2 separate regions of the Homo sapiens genome follow, and region 2 is linked to region 1. The links are contacts of gene promoters, found by promoter capture Hi-C in human tissues and cell types (Jung and others, 2019). All regions are on one chromosome and are shown on one strand. The core of a region is centred on a gene start or on the middle of the fragment in contact, and the rest is flanking DNA. Distances in the headings are between cores, read along the strand shown.

What was found. The method cuts DNA at HindIII sites, captures the fragments that hold promoters and counts their contacts. A contact is called where the count stands out against the background at its distance.
Region 2: a contact is called between a fragment that was not itself captured here and the fragment with the promoter of EYA4 in region 1, in 1 of the 25 tissues and cell types used here (thymus).

Annotation. Positions count from the first base shown.
Region 1 is chr6:133,239,615-133,246,036 of GRCh38, forward strand. It overlaps EYA4 (EYA transcriptional coactivator and phosphatase 4), which reads left to right and starts at 1,743. Exons shown (of 20, transcript NM_004100.5): 1 at 1,743-2,135. LOC124901231 (serine/arginine repetitive matrix protein 1-like) reads right to left here. Exons shown (of 3, transcript XM_047419612.1): 2 at 2,605-2,797; 3 at 706-2,042. The coding sequence ends at 1,172. RefSeq lists enhancers at 2,086-2,980, 2,981-3,873. The HindIII fragment of the contact is 6,618 bases long and covers 1-5,409 here.
Region 2 is chr6:133,505,509-133,511,192 of GRCh38, forward strand. It overlaps EYA4 (EYA transcriptional coactivator and phosphatase 4), which reads left to right. Exons shown (of 20, transcript NM_004100.5): 14 at 598-687. It overlaps TARID (TCF21 antisense RNA inducing promoter demethylation), which reads right to left. Exons shown (of 9, transcript NR_109982.1): 7 at 1,736-1,813; 8 at 571-762. It also overlaps the pseudogene HSPE1P21. Among named protein-coding and RNA genes, the nearest start is that of EYA4-AS2, 52 kb to the left of the region's middle. RefSeq lists an enhancer at 1-842. The HindIII fragment of the contact is 8,455 bases long and covers 60-5,684 here.

The sequences.
Region 1 (6,422 bases), core at 493-2,992:
TATTTTTCTCTCCAGTGTATATTAACTGGCATTCCTCGTTAGGCCAGAATGTGCTCTCAACCATGCTCCAAATCCGCTTTGTGCCAACCCCACTGCCAGAACCCTTTCTACCTTGAGAACCAGAAAAGGAAACATTATGCCTGGCAATGCCTACACCCTCCAAAATAAATCTGCAGGAAAGAACACCCAGTAAGTGATGAGAGCAGCAACGACTGCCTTTATCATTTTAAATTTACAACACCACCTTTTCTAGAGCCTCTTAAGCATTGTAGATAATTCCCCACTCATTAAAAAATAAATTGTAACCATAAGTATTCAGGGTTGATACTGCTTTTGAATTAGACAGTGCTCATATCAGTTGCATAAGACCAACCTAAAGTAGAGGATGAAATCTTTTTTCTGAACCTTTTTCAGAACGTAACTTAGTGAATATATTAAAACTAAACTTTCTTTGAATGGGAGTAATTTCTACGGATTAATCTGTAATCTCTTAGACCACACCTAAGGTAATGTAGAGGTTGTTGTATCATAGGCTTTGTGATTAGAGACCACTGGATTTGTCTTTGGAAAAGTCACTCATGATTCTTTGGGCTTTGGTTTCCTCATCTTTTATACCGGCTTAATAATGACCACCGTAGAGTTGTCATGGAAGTTAAATGAACTCATGTACCATAAGTGACCAATACAATGATTGACACTCAGTGATTTATCAATAAATTAAAACATTTATTATCAATATGACAGAGAAGGTGCCGCTAAAATAGACAATAGGTTTTTGGAAGAGGTGATTAAATGGATGCAAAATTTATGGATTGTTTATTCCGTCTACCTTTGCTGTGTCCCCTGGTTGTGGCATACACACGTGTGGGTATAAAATCGTAAATCCTATGTAGTCGCGTAGTGCATGCGCAGAAGGCTTAGACACGAAATGTCATTTCAGCAATGTGCCTAGAGAAGCTCTGACGCCGCCTTGGAAGTAAGTCGTTGCTGCCTGACCTTTGGGCGTCTGGGACGGATGCCTATACCTGCACCCAGCAGCACTGGAAGGGGCCCAGGCCCTTCGCAGCACAGCCTATCCCCAGACCGCTTAGTCCTTCATAACATATATCTCCACGGAAAAGGGTATTTCCTCCCGTCAGAAAAAGCGCCCCAGTCTGGTCTGGGTTGGTTTTTATTTCACGTTGTTGCAAGTAGGCGAAGTCCCTTCTGTCTCCTCCCTTGGGGTAAGTGGAAAGGAGTCCGGCAGGGGGCCCGCAGTGGCCTGCACAGGGGAACTGGGTAGCGAGAGAGTTCCAGGCAATTCCGGGGGCTGCCCCACAGAAGCAGGTGGGGATCGACAGTGGCTCTCCGGCCCAGGGAGGAGAGCGCGGTCGCGGGTCCCTCCCCTCAGCCTGGAGGCTGCAGCCGCTCGAGTCGGCCCGGGTGGGGGCGGGGTGGGGGCGGCGCGGAGGGCACGGAGATTACGGCGGCGCCACCCGGGACATCCAGGGCCCCGAGGCCCTGGGCGGTCCCCACGCGAGATCGCAAACCATGACAATAGGCAGTCACCCGAGGTCAAATAAAAACGGAGTGGGTCCCCCGCGCGCCGCCGCCCCCCGCGTCCCTGGCGGCCTCCCCCGAGGCCCCCGGCGGCCTCACGAGCCCGCAGTAGCCGGTGGCGACGTCGCCCCCGCCCCACCTCCCTGCGCAAGTGCGAGGCTGCCGGCAGCGCGGCGCACGCTCCGGCCGTTCCCGGCTTCCGCGCAAAACTTCCATCCTGTCCACGTGAAGTTGTCGCTGCCTTAGAGAGGGGGAAAGAGCTGCGGGAAAAGCCGGGGAGTGACGACTGCGGCGGCTGGGCGCGCTCTCTCATTTTCTTTTCTTCTCCTTTCCCCCCTGTCGCAGTCCGGAGTTTTGGCTCCTCTCCTTTCCTCCTCCCCCTCGGAGCCGGCTTCTCCCTCCGCCCCGCTTCTCCCCCGCTTGTGTACGCTATTTGTTGTGGGGTGGCCGAAGGGGATGTCCTGTTTTCACCAGAGGCACAGCGCGAAGGGGAAACTTCGACACTGGAAGGAACGAGAATAAATACTTAATTACGGACGCACTGAACCGCGGCTGGGACAGACACTTCGGGAACCCGAGGCGGACCGGGCGACGAGGTGAGTGACCCCTTCTTCCAACCCCCGCCCCAGGGCTCCCGGGGGAGCCTGAGTTGAGAGAACCCCCAAACTTTCCGGGAAAGTGCGCGAGGCTCCGCCGGGGACGCCGAGCGCTGGGTACTGAGGACGCGCAGCTGGACGGTGCGTGGGCGCCTGCGTCCCCGGGGGGCGCTTGGAGGCCGGGTGCCCCACGCCTGAGGGCCCGGGCCGCTCGGACCGCAGCGGTGCTCTCTGCCCTAGAAGACGTCCCCAAGCCCCAAGGGTCCCTTCCGAGCCTGCCTGTCCCTTCCGGGGTCGGCGCGGAGCCTGCGCGTAACGGAGTTCATCCAGCAGTCCAGCGCGCGGCTTCTACCTGCACCCCGCCTCCACCTGGCAGAGGCGCGAGCATCGGGGTCTCCCCCACATCTTTCTTATGACGTGTATTACTTTCTGATGACCCCCTAGATGGTCCAGGCGCGAGGATGCTGACCCAGAGTCCTTCGGAGGGTCACAGGCGCCTGGGCTTTCCCGGTGCCGGGTGCGTGTGTACTTTAAAGGCTCGCGTTCTAATCTCCAGGCACTGATCGGGCTTTTCAACTGCGGCGATCCCACTTTAATAGTTTTTATGTGGCGTGGACTGAATGTCTCCTGCAGTTTGCCAGGGTCGGTGAAATTAGAGGCGCCTTGTCAGAGCAGTCGCGTTCATTGGCTCGAGTAGCGGGTGCCATGGAAGGCTTATAACTTCTCCAAAGGAAGGGACCTGGCTGGGTAGAGCAGGTTTTTCTCTCCTTCCAAGCCTGCTGGGTCTGGGGAGGCAGTGGAACTTGAAATGGCTCGGATTTTTAGCGTGGTGAAGCGAGGTTTGGAAGTAGACGTGTGTGTGCTTGTTTTATTCTGCGCCGCACAGCAACCCGAACTTTCGTTTGGTAGCACTTGAAAGAGTTTTCTCCCTTTGTTTGCGAGATTCTGAACAGCTCGGAGCGATTAGGGAATTTGCGGACCGAGTCCGGTGGCAGAGCTGGGGCGAAAGCAGAGAGCGCAATTTAATTTTTGTCATCTCTTCCCTGCTTGGGAGGATAGTGTTTCCCTTCACCACCACCCCTCTTTCTCCTTCCTATGAAGACAACGGATTTGCGCCTGGGGTGAGAGTGTGTGCGGGAGAGTGGTGTGGAGACTGTCCTCTCTCACCGCGTCTCCTGCGCCTCTCCCCGCCATCCCGAGCGGGCCTAGAGAGTCATTCATGAATCTTAACCTGAGGGCAGGGGAGGAAGGTGCAGGTCCCTCTGCCCTTTCTGCCAAGGTGCAGAATAGCGCCCGGGCGTGTGTTTTGGTTCCAGAGCAGTTCCACGTGGAGCAACTTCGTGTGTGTGTGTGTGTGTGTGTGTGTGTGTTGTGTACTTGATCTGTGAGGAGGTAACAGGACTCTGGTGTTCAAACCCAGTGGGCCGTTGGCCATTAGTTTGCTTTCCTGGCTGTCATTACAGACACTTCCAAAATCTGATACCTAAGAGAACCAACAGGTTAGGTTTCACATTAAGGGCTCATACTTAACAGTTTTCTTTCTCCCTTACCCCTTTTGGCTTGGCACCCTGGGATCAACGTAATTGTTGGAGCGAAATACACCTCCTGGAATATGGCATTTTGTTCCTCTTCTCATCTGTGGCCACTTTGTGAACCCTCGGGTGTTTGTCAGTTTCAGTGCGGGCTCCTGCGGGATTTAGGTGGGAGTCTTAGGAGCGTTTAACAACCGCGGGCTCCCCATCAGCAGCTTCTGAAGTTTCACTTACACGTAGGTGACTGACAGGATTGAAAGTTGACGATGGTTTTTTTGTTTGTTGCGTTGTTTTTGTTTTTAAAACCTTAGGGAAGGGATTGTACTTGAATTCCTTTCCCGGGTACGGTTTGGTTTTAAGCAGAATCAGTGCCTTTTTTTTTTTTTTTGTCTTTTAAAATATTATTGGCAAGCTTAAACCTGAAGAACCAAAAACTAGAGGGGGTGGGGAGAGAATCCCCCCAAAAAATATTTGATACGTGATACGGAGCGTTTTAGGAGACTGCATTCAAAGACATTTGTGTATTTTTAAAAATAACATTATCCCAAGAAACAAAAAGCAGTAGTAACAAGAGACAGATTGTTTTGTGTGGAGCAAGACTGCCAGAATCTGATTTTTATGGCAACAATATCGAAAGCAGACATAACTACACCCACATTTATTGTTATAAACCGTAAAAATAGTTTGTTCCACCTGATTAAAAGTTGTAAGTCATTCAAAGTTAAACCCGTATTTAGGAATGACTGTACAAGAATGTTAAAACCTTTGACAGCTACAGCTTTGAAAGCAACATAATTAGATTTGTTGAAAATGTCTCCTTTCTCTGATTATTAGTGATATGTACTTGTCTTTCATAATAAGTAAAGGTCTACAATCAATATGGTTTTCAAAAGCCTGTTTTCCTTTGTAAATTTCCTGAAAATAGTATGTTTCAATATTTAAAGACCATTGTAACTACCGGTTGGTTCACAATTATAACTAAAATAAGATTTACTCAGTTGTTTTCTTTTTATTAGTATTTGTTGAATATTTGAAATTGAATTTCTCATTTCCAAAATAAAACGTCTCACATATATGTATGTACTCACAATTAACACTTCTTTTAAGTAGTAGGCTTAAGTTTTAAAATTTTTAAAATCTTAAGATTTGTATAAAAAGGAGTGATTGTATAAAAAGGAATAATAATTATTAATTGTTAAGAAAAATAGATGCTGAATTTCAGAGGGTTTCTAGAAGCTGGAGAAAAAAATTGCATAGAAGTTTCTTTTTTGACGGGTGACTGGCAGATGAGTTACTTGTCATTTTGCTATAATTTATTTTTTTCTTTTAATAAGGCTCTTTGGGTTAAAAAAAAAAAAGGAAAAACAAGTACTCCATTTCTAAGAGTTTCCTTTTTATTTATGTTGTACTTTGGGGTGTAAATAAATTTTACATAGCCACGGGAAATAGAGTATCCAATTTCATGTTTTCAGTCTCTGTTGCAAGCTCTAAATGACTGATGTCGTGTCTAAAAATATATTTATATGGCTTGATATTTCATTTTAACATTTTATGCACTGGAATTAGATTTTTTAGGATTTTTAGAAAGATAGAATGACAGAAAGACGATGACTATTGTTATAAAAAGTTAGAATGTTAGGAAGTTCACATTCTAACTTTCAAATAATCAAACTTATTTTGCCCCACAAAAACTCACAGTTTTTATACAGATTTCAAGAAGAGGGGTGATAATCTTTTTCACTACTTAGTTAAGTGTTAAGTAATTTAAGAATGCAAGTATGTATTATGCTTTCTCATTATCATTTTTTTCTGTTAGGTAAATGCAAGAACACTGGACATTCTGTAAAAACAGGCCCCTCTTTATAAGGAGTTTATTCACCATAGTTCTGTATTGCAGCTGCTGATCATATTTCATGGAGCTGTTAAAGCACTTAAAACCTAAAATTAGGTACTGTCTGGTTGTAAATATTTCAGATCACTTATTTAAGAAATAAATAGAAAAGTGTGCTATCAAAAGTAGGAGACGTTTTGAATCCTCTCATTGAAGAGCTGAACAAACCTCTATCAAAACACCTTCTTCTTTTTTCAGTGAGAATATAATCTTGACAGTTTCTTTTTCTAAATGGATATTATTCTTACATGTACTAAATGCTAAACTCTTATAACGTGCCTCCCTGTAGAGTATCTTAAACTAATTATATTCAGAAATACAGTTGGGGGATTTTATTACAATGGTTACTAGGTGAAGGAAATCAACACCAGGGGAATGGGGTGGCATTGCAGTGTACCTGCTTCTCTCATGAATTTTTCCTGCTAAACTAAGAAATGACATGCTGTTTCAGGCATTTGCCCTGGAGATGGGTGAGATGCAATATGTGTAATGCTGCATCTTATAGTTAGATGTGTTTTAATGAAGGGGACACTGCATAGTCATTAAATCATTTTTGGAGCCAAACTTGGCGTCATTTAGCTTGAACTTAAGTGGAAGAAAATGAACAAGAGTTACACATTCAAAAGAAGTACAAGCAACTTTGATTGCTTTTAAGAGGTTTGAAGACTTTGTAAACATTACTGTCACTCAATATTGCTTGTGGAGCTGTACATTAATATATGCTTTGGTGATATGTCATTTTACGCTTGAAATTTGTCATTCTTAGTGTTTCTCCATCCATCTTTTTATTAGTAAAGAGATACTGAAAATGAACACTACTATTCTTACTCCCCTAACCCCTTTCACACCTCCAGAAAAAGAGAT
Region 2 (5,684 bases), core at 3,037-5,536, 270 kb after region 1:
CCAAACTCTACACATGTTTGGATAGGGAGATTCCTCTTACCTTGTTGATAAAAATGCAATTAAAAATTAAGTGATGGTCGCACCATCCTCTGCCAGCTCTTCCTGTTTCACCTCCAGATAACATTCTCTACTCAAGTCCTATAAATACCCAGTTGACCTATTTTTCTCTATCTTTTAATTCTTATTATTTGTCATTATTCTTAAAAAGACATCCTTTCTTTTTAGTAAGTTTGCTCCATTCTTCAGCACCCCATCCAAATACCTTTCTCCAGAATACTTTCCATAGATTATATGTAAACTGGGTCATATGAACTAGCTGATTTCCTTCCTCCTTCTCTCCTCAACATACAGCTTTATGTGAAAATGTATGCTGAGTCATCGTTACGTATGTCTGAATTCCCAGGTGTGTCTGTGCATTTGGTATGTCTGAACCTTCTGGAAAGTCACCTTTTTGGAAAACTGAGAAATCTTTTGAATCTTCAGTAAAAACCCATGCAGTCTTCTCCCTCTTCCACCACAGCAATATGTGCTTAAAATATTTTTAATAATAAGCGCTTACTGAAATTTTACCTCATTATGTGTACATTTTCTTTACAGGATCCCCCCATGGCTGTAACCCTTGGACTCCGCATGGAAGAAATGATTTTTAATCTTGCTGATACTCATTTGTTTTTTAATGATTTAGAGGTAAGAATTTTACAAGGTACAAATAGTTGTATCCAACACCAGACCTCCTAGATGGTTTCTGTATCTGTAGATAACCTCGAGAAAACAGAAAGATAAAAATTCAGCTCAAGAGAAGCATAAAGTTCTTGTCAAGAGGAAAAATTGTATATACAAATATAAGCAGAAAGTTAATTTGTGTTCATGAATAATACATATGTAGAACAAAAATGTCTCTGAAGAGGAGATTGTTGGCTTTGCTGTCCTTACTGTCCACAGCTGTACATGACTCTTGGTTCTTTTAGTGTTTCAGCATTAGCTCTTCCAGATTATTAACCCGGAACCTATCTAGGTTAATCACTAAACGATATTCACAGACACTATTCATGGTGATAGCGTGGATCAATTAATTTTGTGGATAATCTGAAACTTAACTTTAGCTAACATTATCATTCCCCGTTTCTTTCCCTTCTGGATAAAACAGTGCTAGAACTATTTAAGCACATTTGATGCATTTAAATGCATTTATTTTCTCATTTTAAAAATTATGTTTCTATTTTCAACCTCAAATGGCAAGACAGTGTCTAAATGGCAAATAAGAGGAATAGAAAATAAAAATCAACAGCAAAATGAAACGACCCAAGGAAAAATAGCCTCAGAGTAGTTGAATGTGTACTGCAATAAAGTATGCCATCTGTGTGCTAATGACCTAGGTTATTAGACATTCAGATAATAGAATTCGAAATAACTAAATAGTTCAGGTTCTTGGCAGAAGTACTTCTCAGTCAAGCATAACTATGCTGAAATAGAGATTTCTCTTTCATTTTTTTTCAGATGGCATGTTTAAATTTATTTTTTATCTCATAGTTTCATAATTAAAGTTTTTATCTATAGTCATATTATGAATTGAGAGGGAGATTACTACTACTGAACCCCTACCTTGTTCTAGATATTTTATGTTGGACTTTCCATTAATTACTTAACAATGTATTGAAGTAAATGTGTTTATCACATTATTTATGCAAGGGAGAAACTGTATGGTCCACAACATACAAATCACATCTAAAGTTACCTGCTATCTAAATGGCAGAACTGGAATTTGAAGCAGATTTGCGTGGCTCCAGAGCACATACTTCTGACCCATCCTTTGCTGAAAATTTTACAAGTGTGTGAGAAAGAAAAGCCAAGTTATTGAGTTACTTAAATAACTTTTTTTTTTAATGCTCTAAGTTCTGGAGTACATGCGCAGAACGTGCAGGTTTGTTACATAGATATACACATGCTGTGGTGGTTTGCTGCACCCATCAACCCGTCATCTACATTAGGTATTTCTCCTAATGTTATCCCTCTCCTAGCCCTCCACCCCATCACAGGCCCCAGTGTGTGGTGTTCCCCTCCCTGTGTCCATGTGTTCTCATTATTCAACTCCCACTTATGAGTGAGAACATGCATTGTTTGGTTTTCTGTTCTTATGTTAGTTTGCTGAGAATGACGATTTCCAGCTTCATACATGTCCCTGCAAAGGACATGAACTCATCATTTTTTATGGCTGCATAGTATTCTATGGTGTATATGTGCCACATTTTCTTTATCCAGTCTATCATTGATGGGCATTTGGGTTGGTTCCAAGTCTTTGCTATTGAACATTGCTGCAGTAAAAATACATGTGCATGTGTCTTTATAGTAGAATGATTAATAATCCTTTGGGTATATACCCAGTAGTGGAATTGCTGGGTCAAATGGTATTTCTAGTTCTAGATGCTTGAGGAGTTGCCACACTGTCTTCCACAATGGTTGAACTAATTTACACTCCCACCAACACGCCAGTTAGAAAGTTTTTTTTTTTAAATGACAAGGTCTTAAATCCAGTTTGAGTTATATTTGAGACATGAGAGTAAAAATGAGTGGTTCAGTACATTCCATAAATGTGTGTGCTGAAATCTGTGTAATAGCATTTTGCTGTTGTTGTTGTTGTTTTTCTCTATGGTGAGTCATGTTTTTACTGAATAATACAATTACTGTCTGTTTAAAGCGGCATTCTTTTTTTTCTACAGTGGACAGTATGAAAGCTCATATTACTAGGCAAGCTTTCAGTTTTAGATAACAAATAATAATCACCTCTCTAAAACCTGATTTAAATTGATCCTGCTACTTATGAATACAGAATGATTTTATATATATATATCTGGTAATAACAAACACCTTAACCTTTCCACAACTTGAATTTTTTACATACAGCGATAACTTTTGGGGTTAGTTTTTCTGTTGATCAGTATGGATGAGTTGCATTGTAAAGAGGATCTTAATATTATTAGTCTTTTCAAAGGTATAAAAAGAAAAAAGAAATTTTATGTGGTAGTATCCAAGTAAAAGTGCTTATTTCATTTGGTTAATTATTTTTTACTGGAAATAAGTGGAATAAATGAACTTTTAGCTTTTGTAGTGGCACATTAGAAGCCAGATGGAATAAATTTGCTACCCAACTTTTAAAAGAACACTGCAGTGAGAAGGTGAAAGTAGCATATAATGAATTTGTAACTAACTAGCAAGTTTGAAATGAATATTGGTATATCAAAAACATGTTGTAGTCATGTATGGCACTTAAAGACATTTATTTTAGTTCAGGTACTATGTTATATGTATTTCAAAAATACCTGGCAGGATCTTTGGTAGAAGTAGTTCATGAGAAAATACTGGTATTGACTTTCTCTTCTCTGAGTATATAGCTTTTTAGTTGTGTTTTAGAATGTGATAAGAATTTCATTTGACTCAAACCCTAGAACTTAGCTATTCAACAATACTGTACTTAATCAATAAAATAATTGAGTTTCTGCAGATAAATTGAACTCTCACTGTATATGCGTGCCACACAAATGCTTGCACATCCAGATAAAGTGCCCAAGGAAACATAAATGATTTTTACTGACTTGAGTAAACAAGCACTAAAACCAATAGAATCAAAACAGTAGCTTTCAAAAGCATTCAGTACAGTTACATACATAGCGCCCTATCCTTCTGCATCTGACTTTGAAAGGCAGTTTTACTTTCACACAACTTTTTATTTCAATAAACCTCTTACAGCCAAAAATTGTCTTGGGCTCCATAACTGGAATTAAATGATTTCTACTCTTGTTGACAAAAAGAATTCCTCAAGAGAGTAACTCTAACATTAGCTTATTATGTTGTCATTGTTGATGTTGAATATTTAAGCTCTCAGGGTGCTTTTCTTAAAAAAAAAAAAAAAACCGAACCATCTAATTTGACACTCCATTCTTTCAGTAGATACTGCAACATATATAGTAGCAGCTGTTCCTCACATAATTCCTTAAAAGATACAAATTTAAATCCTCCTAATAGACACTTCACTGCATCCTGCCCAACTGCAGAGAAGGCAGATGCCCAAACTACCCTCCCCCAACAGAAGAGAATCCTGTGTGTTTAAATAAAGTGCTATTTCGGTTAGAATAACCTCCAGAAAAGAAGTCTCAGGAAGTTTGAGATGGCAAAGGTGAGAAAAGACTGCTGTGAATTATAACTGATAAATATCAGTGACCACTTTTTGGTCACTTTGTGAGACAAAATTAAAGTATTTAAAGTTAGTTCTAGAATATTTTCAAATGTTTGAGTTTTATTAAAATTTGTTAAAGCCAAAACATTACAGTGTTTTTAGTATTTCACTTTTTGGTCAAAATGATTCTTACAAAGTTTCTCAGAGTGAAAAATAATTGAAGGACAATTATTTAGCTTTTTCTAAAAATGTAAATAATGGAAGTTCAGGTTTCTTTCACTGGACCGTAATCCTCAGGCAACCGTCCAGAGTCAACAGGCATAGTTAACTAGGCATAAATTTAAAGAAAAGTTAAATTTGGAAAAACCTCAAATATAACCTCAATTATGGAGCTTATGGTCCAATAAGTGTGATATACTGTTGTCCTCAGGAGTAAAAGATAAGTTTTTGGGCAACCTATGTACAAATTAATCATGCGAGTTAATATTTAATGTCAGAGGAATTTCTCTAAAAATTACAATGAGAGGATATTAAATAGAGAAATAACTTCTGATTACCAGGGAAATTTACAAGGATTCCTCCACTTTTTTGAATGTCATTAATTTATTATAAAAGAGAAACACAGAAGTTATTTACATGTGGAAAGATTTCAGAGCTTCAATGGAATGGGCAACTTCATGTGACACCATTTCAATAGTGATTTATTTCAGTCTACGGACTTTCCAAGTATGTCACCATCTCTAAATAAGAAATAATCTCATCATTTAGAACTACTTTGGTGCCTCCATATTCTGGGAGAAAAACTTTATTTCCAACCCTTATGCTAATGGGTAAAATCTCTCCACTCTTTTCCTTAAAGCCCAGTCCAGCAGTTACTATCATTGCTTGCAATGCCTTTACTGGATGTTTTTCAGGAAGCATAATGCCTCCTTTGGTTACAGTTTGGACTGCACTCCTTTCAGCCAATACTTGGTCAAAGAGGGGAAGACATTTTCTAAATACCTGTCCGGCCAGGCCATTCCTTGGGCAGTCTCTGCACTCTTCTCTCTCCCTTCCTTCCACTCTTGACATAAATATCTTCTTACTCTCCTCACCATTTAGAATGCTTTTATTTTATATCATCGTAACCTTGTGTTAGAAAATTTAAATGATTGTGGTAATCCTGTAAAGAATTAGCATTTGTCTAGACTTCTCCCATTTATTTAAGAAAGAATTGTGGAGTGATTATTCTATGCTAGATTGTGCCGTAAGTGGGGATGTAACCTGGTGAACCAAATGCCGCACTCCAGGGCACTTCCAGTCAGATTAAATTTGGGGACCCATACGTGTAGGTGGAGATTTATTCAAAACTTACTAACCCTGTAATTTCTGTAAATTATATGAACTTTTAACTTACCTGGATTTTCAAGTTACATACTCAGAAGGTACTGATTGGGCTAGTCACTGAGTTTTGTATATTAAAGGAAGCCTGAGTCAACTATACCTTTAAACTGGAACCGGATTAAACACTTTC